Regions from separate parts of the Homo sapiens genome. Here region 2 is linked to region 1. The links are contacts of gene promoters, found by promoter capture Hi-C in blood cells and fetal thymus (Javierre and others, 2016). All regions are on one chromosome and are shown on one strand. Each heading gives the region's core, a stretch centred on a gene start or on the middle of the fragment in contact. The rest is flanking DNA. Distances are from core to core; before and after follow the strand shown. Region 1 holds the start of PSIP1 (PC4 and SRSF1 interacting protein 1). Region 2 holds the start of CAAP1 (caspase activity and apoptosis inhibitor 1).

Region 1 (4,641 bases), core at 1,380-3,879:
AATGGCATGGGCAAGTAGCCAGAGGGGCTAGAATGTTGCCTCAGCCCCTGGACTAGATGTGTGATCTTGGGCAAGCTAGCTGCTTACCTTCTGTGAGCTTATTTTCTCATCTGTGAAATGGGGATAGTGGCACTTGGGTTAAATGAGATAATGTAGGCCAAGTTCCTGCCTCAACTCATTTGGATTTTCCTGCCCCCTCCCCTTGCTTCAGTTGTTTTGGAAATTACACTCTTTCTCCTTATAACTTTCCCATTGCTCCTCTGATCTCCATTTTGGTATACTTTTTCAAGTATCCCCACTAAGAAGGCTGACTATGGGAGAGGGCTGCACCAAGCATAGCTGGAAAAGAGCACAGAAAAGCTCTCCCAAGTGGCTAGGATGTGCCCAGCTTTCCTTCCCCGTTCCCTGCCCTCCCCTCCCCTCCCCTCCCCCCCCCTTTCCTCGCAGATTCAGAACTGTTGCTCCCAGGGATCCTGGGCTTTTGTTCTCTGGAAGCTTAAACCACCACCTGTTTTGCCTTTATTGTTTAAAGGGTATCTCCTGTTGTTCACAAACTACCACAGGTTGAAGCGGACAAAACTTAAAGGCAGCAGGAGCTAAGTATGGTACTTCCTTTTTTTAAAACAACAAAAACAACAGAAAATACTAATAGTAAAACATCAATGCTTTTCCATTTTCCCTTTTTTATTTCTTTTCTGAGGTCCCCTCTAACACTAACTACCCCCTCTTTACCTGTTAATCCTACCATTAGTACTAATAAAAAGTTATCTTTAACGTTAATTATAACTTGTTATATATCTGTTTTTCTTAGTTTGAAGTTTTTACAGTCTGAGGTATCCTCTAAAGCAGTTTCTCAAACTTGAATATGCGTAAGAATCACCTAGGGATCCTGTTAAAACGCAGATTATGATTTAGAAGGCCTGGGGAAGGTCTGAGCTTTACCTGAGCTCCCAGGTAAAGCCCTTGCTGCTGGGCCTTGGACCACACTTGAAGTAGCAAGGCCTTACAGGGTTTAGAACAAATAAAGTGCATACACACAAAAAAATGATTGCTGGATGCTGCTTTGGTCTCTCTTACTCTGTATCTTGAGCTTTTCTTCAATACATCTTTTTCCACCTTTTCCTATGCATAATTTATAGCCAACACCTGACAATCATTCCTTTGTGTAATTACTTAGTTGTGCTCTTCCTTCCCTTTTCTTAGTCACCATTCTCACTGAGAAATGCGTCATTTCATGAGTACTCCAGTTACCCCCAGCCTCTTTCTACTAACATCTACCTTGAAACATCAAGAACTGGTTAAATAATCATTTTTACCCCCTTCTTGCTGAGCAACCTATAGTAGCTTCCTACTACACACATTAAATTCATATTCAGAATGAGAAGCTTCAAGACATTTCACCAACCCTTCCTTCTCCTCTGCCAATTTCTCTTTTTGCTCCACTTGGAACTCTCTGCATATTGCCCAGGTATACTTAGTTTCTCGAAACTCCTTACAGGACATTTTACTTTGGGACTGTCTTCTTTCATTCCTTTTTAAAGACATGCTGTATCGCTTTCAAAAAATTCTCAATTTTTACCAATTCAAAAAAAATTTCCTAATTCATTTCCAGTTGAGTCCCGTATTTAAAACAGTATTATCTAGGTGCTAATATATGTCTTATTATTCTTATTTTTATATGTCTTAACATTCTTTTTAAAAATATTTTCAGCCTCTCTAAAGGATCAAAAAATTAACCTTTAAAATCCCTTGAAGAGCATTTTAAGAGAGAAAATATTTGAGGTTTAGTAACACTTACACATTGTACCACCTACCAGCTCCTATTCTACTAGGGAAATAAAATTTAGATGCAGCTAAAATTTAGTTAGGGCCCAAACTCACATCCTATCTAAAAGGTTTCTGTTTTCCTGTCATTGTTTTCTACCCTTCGCATTTTGCATTCAGTAGGGTTGCATTTTTCTTAATAGTTCTTGGTGATGCAAATGCAAAAGAAATGAAATAGGGCTCTCTCATACTACAATTTCAAGGAAAAGGAGACTACGAGGCCCATTCAGCGAGGTGCAAGAGGCCTAGATGCAGCACACCCTGCAACCGCCGCATGCTCCAATTTCATCTTAGGGTTTTCGTACAGCTCCTCTTTTTTGGATGATGCAAACCGCGCAAAAGCAGCATTCAAACCTCCCCACCCTGGAAACGATACAAGAACATGAATCTTTACTGCCACTTTCTCCCTAACACGCAGCCAAGGGAGAGAGGCCCGGATACCCGCCCCCAAAACCGCGTCCACAACAATCATTTCCTCCCTCCCCGCCTTTTACATACAGTACACATACAAATACACACACGCAGAGAAGCCAGCAGGGGCGGGCCGGGCCCGACCACTCCGCAAACCGCAGGGGGAACTTGCGGCAGGCCGAGCTATTTTCGCCCAGTCCTTTCTTCTTCGCTTGCGTCTTCCTCTCCATCTGCATGCACCTGTTACATGAAAGCGAACTTGGGGACGTAGGGTTTCCAGAAAATCCGCTTCGGAGCCACACAGCTTCGCCGGGTGCTGCAACATCCCCCCTCTCTCGGTAAACAGTTGGTCGCGCCCCAGTGCTAGCGGGCGCCGAGCGGGAGCCGCGCGGGAGCAGCGCAGCTACGGCGGCGGCAGCGGCGGCGCGGTTGCGATTCCGAGCCGTTGAGACGCCTCTGCGGCAGCTGGTGGCGCAGGTGGCTTGCGTGGACGCGGGTAGAGGCGACCGGCCAGCAACCGCAGCGTCGGCGCCCGCGGCCCCGGCAGGTGAGCGGGCGACGGGGACTCGCCCCGCCCCCCCCTCGGTGGCGTCGCTCCTGGCTGTAGCGGGGAAGTGGACGCGGCCCGCCCGGGAGCCGAGGGGGCCGAGGCTGCAGCCGCTGGGCAGCAGGTTGCGGGGGAGGCCTTGCGTGGGCGGAAGGGGGCCGCTCGCTTCTCGGAATCCCTGCCTTTTTCTCTCCCATGCACCCCCTCCCTTTTGGGGCTTAAGCTCGGTGGAAAAAGCCCGGAGAAAGATGGGGCGGGCAGACGGGCGATTTCTGGCCGGGCAGCATCCCTGCTTCAGGTGGTGGCGTCTCTTCGGTGGCGGGGTGGAGGACCTGCTCCAGCGCGGAGGCAGCGCACTGGCGGGGGAGGAGCGGGAGGCGGCCGTCCCCTCGCTCTCCCACCCCCACCCGCCGGTTCCCCTCCCCCTCCCCTTGCGGCCCCTCCCTTCGGGGTTCTTCGCTTTAACCGCCCTCGGTGCTCTCCCTAGCAGGCGCGTCGGGACGCCCCGAGGCATCCTCCCCCGCCCGCGGGCCCGGTAGCTGGGCCCGCGTCCGCCGCCCGCATCCCCGCGCCGCCGCATCTCCTCGCCGCCTCCCGGGCTTCGGACCCCCGGTCTCGCCCCCGAAACATGACTCGCGATTTCAAACCTGGAGACCTCATCTTCGCCAAGATGAAAGGTTATCCCCATTGGCCAGCTCGAGTAAGTGATTTGTAGCCCTCGCGCTTAGCAGTGCTACCCTCCTCTCCAGAGGCCTGCTGCCCACCGTGTCTCTTTATTTTTTCTTCTGTCCTTTCTCTCCCTCGCTTTAGTCTCATTTGTAACCTGACCTTTCATTTTAGTTTTTTGCCCAATAATCTCCCGTGTAATTATGAAAATCCAGACGTTTCTACATACCTGTGTATTTCCCTATGGTTTATTGGCAGACTTGGACAGATTTTCTTCCTAGGAAATATTTAAATGCGTTGCTAGTTAATATTCCATTGTAGGTGAAATAATGAAGAGTGAATTTTTGTTTAAAAATTAGTGAAACATTGACATTTCCATAGTTTTGGATCAAGTACAAAATATCAATGGAATTTGTGCAGATTACACACAAACACTTGGATGTCAGAGAAGTGCGTATGTGATTAAATTGGATTTACAGGGTTTTAAAAAAAATACCTTGTACTTGATGAGGCCTTCTGGATTTGCTTGTTTAATACAGATTCAGGACTGGATATTCTTGAAAGTATTACAGTAGTTTAGTACCGAGGAAGGGCCAGAAAATTCATTTCTCCTTTTTTATTTGAGATGTTTATGACCTTGAAGAAGTTGTTTTACCTTTTTGTTTCCAATAGGCAAAAAGGAGGTGTGGACCAGATTCCTCAGTTCACATCTAGTGGTACAGAGAAATGATTAAGGACCCAGGATGTTTTGTGACATTGAGGAATTGAGACTGTTTAAAGATCTACGCTCCATTTTTAGAAAAAGGGTTCTTTTTGTTTATGGTGGTACCCAGGCTCTCAAACAGAGATAGATAGGACCTAAGATATGTTGCAATCAATTAGATTAGGTAAACTCAAGATCCTTTAAAAATATACTTACATGGGGTTCTGAAGTTTTATTTTTCCAAGCCATTTATTTTCGACTAATTTACTGTCCTTTGAAAATGTATTTCTTAAAAATAATTAAATTCTGTAGTTTTAGTTATGTCAGCAGGGGAATGGTGGAAAACACCCATTAGATAACGGAGTCCTGTCTAGGAGCTGAGAGTGCCATCCAAGTGTAAAACGATCACTGTTCCTTGACTTTCTTCCATCTAGCTGCTCTACGTAAACTCCTGTTCACAAGTTTCCTTCCAAAGCTTTTTTCCTTGCCT
Region 2 (4,641 bases), core at 836-3,335, about 11 Mb before region 1:
ATCTTCCTCATGATCCACCCGCCTCGGCCTCCTAAAGCACTGGGATTACAGGCGTGAGCCACCATGCCTGGCCCAGACTCTTCTTTTAATAAGGACACCAGTTATATTAGATTAGGGACCCACCCTTATGACTTCATTTAACCTTAATTACCTCCTTAATGACCCTATCTCCAAATTCAGTCACATTGGGGTTAGGGATTCAACATATGAATTCTGTGGGTGATGTTATAGGACCATCAGGTTCTATTAACCACTACATGGTACCAGACCAATACATGGAAACAGCAGGAGTTGCAGCAGAGAAAGAGTTTAATAATGGTATGCCAGCCAAGGGAGAAGATGGGAGGGAACCTCAAATCACCTCCCCAGTAAGTTTTTGGACAGGGGTTTTTAAGGGAATTTTGGTGGGTAGGGGGCTGAGGAGCTAGGGGTTGCTGATTGGTTAGGGCATGGGGGATGTAATCATAAGGAGGTAGAAAGTGCATTCTTGTGCTGAGTTCGTTTCTCAGAAGGGGTCTTCAGACTGAGTAGCATCAGTGACCCCACTGATATGGTTCCAATGACTGGAGGAACACCACAGTCTTTTGTCTCGTGCTGGTTTAAATAAAACGATACAGACACAAGTGGAATTGTTTTAAGGAGCGGAGAATTTAATAGGCAAGAAAGAAGAGGCTCCCTCATACAGAACCAGAGGGAAGAGGGCTCCCAGATGAAAGAGGGAACCTTGGGTGCAGCAGACAAGAGCCAGTTATATTATGAGGCTGGAGGAGGTGGTGACTAATTTGCATATGACCCAGGGAATTGGTTTGACCAGGTATGTCATTCACGTAGCCTGCAAAAAAAGTGGCCCTCCCACCCTAGCCTTTTAATATGCGAATGTAGGGTGCCACAATGTTCTACACATGTGGGGATATGTGGGGATGGCCATGTTGCTAGGCACATGTGGGGACAAGAAGAAGAGGGGAATCGCCATACTGAGTAAACCCAGTTTCTAACGGCCTGCATTTGCATATCATAGCTTGCCAGCCCAGCTTTTTTGCTAGACAAGAAACATTTCTGGAGCTGCTTTAAAAGAAAAAAAACTTCCCAAAGACCCCTTTACCTCTCTATCTGCCTAAAATAATTTCTTAACTTCTGTAACACCATTGGAGTACAGAATCTGGTAAATATCTCAAAATGGAAAACTTGAGATTTCTTAACCGAGTCAAAGATATCTATAAAGCAATAAGCAGCTATAAGGAAGTGGGCTATAGGAAAAGTTGGTTAACGTTTAGCTATGCTTCTACTAAAAGCTTATCTTTTGTCACAAATCCAGCAATTTGGCAGGGCACGATGGCTCACGCCTGTAATCCCAGCACTTTGGGAGGCTGAGGCGGGTGGATCACCTGAGGTCGGGAGTTCGAGACCAGCCTGACCAACATGGAGAAACCCCTTGTCTACTAAAAATACAAAATTAGCCCTGCATGGTGGCGCATGCCTGTAGTCCCAGCTACTCAGGAGGCTGAGGCAGGAGAAATGCTTGAACCCGGGAGGCGGAGGTTGCAGTGAGCCGAGATTGTGCCATTGCACTCCAGCCTGGGCAACGAGAGTGAAACTCCGTCTCAAAAAAAAAAAAAAGAAAAAAGAAAAAATCTAGCAATTTAGTTTTATTAAAATTATGATGGTTTCAGGGACACAATTCATAACAGGTTTATAAATGTAACATGTTATTAATTTTATGTGTTTTTCCTATCTGTGAACACAACACTCTCAATCCTTTCAGGTATGACTCCAATGAGTGTGATACTTAACGGAACTCCTGGGAACACAGTGGGCTCAGCCCCAGGATTTACCTTACAAGGCCAATTTAAGAGTGGGGCCTGGGGGAAGACAGTTTTCCTAGGGCTGGAAGTGTCCCTATTTATTAACCCTAGGCTGGTTTTAGGCATTTAAGTAGTTGTTGAATGACTGAGACAAATAGGAGACAAAGAGAAGGGAAGCTTCTTTAATTGCTTCTTACCCCAGGGAAAGGCACAGAATTACTACCACCCAGCTAGCTTTGCCCCAGGCTCTACCTTTTTCCCTCAGTGGCTAAAGGCCCCTGCTGAAACGACAAAGACCTTGGTTCACGTTTTAAGTGTTCTAGCTCCCTTGTCTTAAAATCTGCCTTCTATTTAGATTACATCCACCCATAAAATCTCATAAAGCTTTGACCCATTCTCAATTTTCAAAAACGAACTCAAGCTCTACTTGTCCATGTCAGACTCTACGCAAGAAATACCTAATTTGCCCAGGTGATGAGGAAAATGAGATGGAACAACTTTTCCCTATTCTCTTTATTGTCATAGCGTTGTTAATATCTTAAGATTTGGAGGTAAACGGAAATGGAGAATCAGCAACTATACTTCAACCTTATTGTAAACAGACAAAACACTAACAATAAAAAGTTTTGAAGTTAAAAGGACGTAAGTTCCACCTTCTATCCTTTGTAGAGATATAAAAACAAAACAAAACAAACTCTGACTAGACAGGCTACCCGCTACACACTCAAATCGACCTCCGCGACCGGAGGGGGAAGCGCAACTGGTTATGGCAACCCCCCTGCCACCCCGGCCCATAACGCTTCACCACGTTCTGTGCCACGGCCGGAAGTGACGCATAACCTGCGACGCCAGTGCCTGCCGCCCACGGCCGCAGGAGTCGGGCTTCGGTCGCACCAGAGACAGCGGACTTTCCTCCGATGGTTGCAGCAGAGGGATCATGACGGGGAAAAAGTCCTCCCGGGAGAAACGGCGCAAACGTAGCAGTCAGGAGGCGGCCGCAGCGCTCGCGGCCCCGGACATCGTACCCGCGTTGGCCAGCGGCAGCAGTGGAAGCACTAGCGGCTGCGGGAGCGCCGGGGGCTGCGGGAGCGTCAGCTGCTGTGGGAACGCCAATTTTAGTGGAAGTGTCACCGGCGGTGGGAGCGGCGGCAGCTGTTGGGGCGGGAGCAGCGTGGAGCGCAGCGAGCGCCGGAAGCGGAGGAGTACCGACTCTTCCAGCGTCTCGGGCTCCTTGCAGCAGGTGCGTGCGCGCCCCTCTGGCCGCTTCCTGGAGCTGCTGCTTTTTCGGAAGAAGTCGGGCTTCCAGAGGGATGGGGCGCAGGCTGGAGCTCACTGCTAGCGCGGCAATCTCAAGGTCGTCCGTCCTTGAGGTTCATGTTCCTACCTAAGTCCTGGTGAGCCCCACACTCCCATCCGTGTCTTGAATCTTGAACTTCAAGTTTCTGGATTTCCTGATCACTTTTTTTTTAATTTATTTTTTAAACTCTTGGCTCCTTCCACTCCTATGGTTTCACTCTGCCGGAAGAATACGAGTTGGAAGCTAGCCTTCATTTCCCTTGCGAGCCAAACACTTCTCCCTTCGTCTTCACCTTTTCGTAGATATGGTTAACTCCGCATTAGAGATAAGAAAATTGAGGCCCAAAGAAGTTAAACTTTACCCACGGTCACAGAGTTTGTTAATAGCTCCTAGGTTTGAATCCAAATATCTGACTACAAAAGCCATGTTCTTTATACGCCACCAGTCTGCCAAGAGAACGCCGTTTTAAAAAAGTTCATAATTTGTTTGAAAACAAATGAATGAATAGGTACTTTAAATTCATTCAATGAGGAAATAAAGGGAAAGCGTCAAGTCCCTTTTCTTGCCCCTCCATTAGTATTTTGATACGCGGCCTCTTTTAATCACTCCTCGTGAGATACGTGTTTTTAAGTTCCTACACTTAAGCTGTATTGTGTTATTCCCGCTGTTGAATACCTGCATTGTTGTGATAGGCTTCTTTATATACGTGGTTTGTTATTTTTACTGACTGCCTGGTATTGTATTATATTTTTCTGATATTTGGGTGTGCAGGTTTTTTTGTATTGTTGTGACTACAATACAAACACCTTTATGTATATATCTCCTACAAGAGTTATGTTGGGAGAGAGTGTGAGAACTGAAATTCCTGGGTCAAAGTTTATGCTATTAAAAACTTATGAATGCCACCAAATGCTTTCCAAATGAGACTTTACAGATTTATAGTCCAAACAGTATATATATAAGAATACCTATTTCTGAGATTCTTAACTAGCTTTTGATGACATTTTGATGGCATTTTTTAAAAAAATTGCCAGACTAGTGGGTCAAATTAATAGTTTGTTTTAATTTTTATTTTCCTTATTAGTGAGATTGAACATTTTAATATTTTTATTTGCCATTTGATTTCTTCTTATGTAATTTTCTGTACATATCCTCTGCTCATTATTCTCTTTGGTAGAGTAGAAACAGTTTATGTAGAGATTTTATCAGGTGGTTTTCTGGCATTCTGTTGAGATGATCACATACTTTTTCTCCTTTAGTCAGATAATGTAATTTGTTGATAAGTTAGTTGATGTTGAACAGTCTTTGGAGTCTTGGGACAAGTGCTGTTTGGTTTGTTGAGTTTGTTGTACTTGGCTGGAATTCAGTATTTTTACTTTCATGTATGTGTTTCTTTTTTTTTGTTTTTTTTGAGACGGAGTCTCGCTCTGTTGCCCAGGCCGGAGTGCAGTGGCGTGATCCCGGCTCACTGCAAGCTCCGCCTCCCGGGTTCAGGCCATTCCCCTGCCTCAGCCTCCCGAGTAGCTGGGACTGCAGGCGCCC

Evidence for each region. Contacts are between HindIII fragments. The CHiCAGO score rates a contact against its expected background, and 5 or more counts as called.
Region 2: a contact is called between a fragment that was not itself captured here and the fragment with the promoter of PSIP1 in region 1, in 2 of 17 cell types (total B cells and non-activated CD4 T cells). The highest score is 10.8, in total B cells.

Annotation. Positions count from the first base shown.
Region 1 is chr9:15,508,958-15,513,598 of GRCh38, reverse strand. It overlaps PSIP1 (PC4 and SRSF1 interacting protein 1), which reads left to right and starts at 2,629. Exons shown (of 16, transcript NM_033222.5): 1 at 2,629-2,782; 2 at 3,270-3,482. The coding sequence starts at 3,411. RefSeq lists enhancers at 339-957, 1,610-2,562, 2,563-3,516 and silencers at 2,644-2,723, 2,744-2,953, 2,964-3,023, 3,154-3,203, 3,304-3,503. The HindIII fragment of the contact is 3,241 bases long and covers 1,388-4,628 here.
Region 2 is chr9:26,890,814-26,895,454 of GRCh38, reverse strand. CAAP1 (caspase activity and apoptosis inhibitor 1) reads left to right here and starts at 2,653. Exons shown (of 6, transcript NM_024828.4): 1 at 2,653-3,042. The coding sequence starts at 2,740. RefSeq lists enhancers at 2,424-2,493, 2,095-2,674, 2,624-2,843, 2,924-3,103, 2,675-3,254. The HindIII fragment of the contact is 207 bases long and covers 1,982-2,188 here.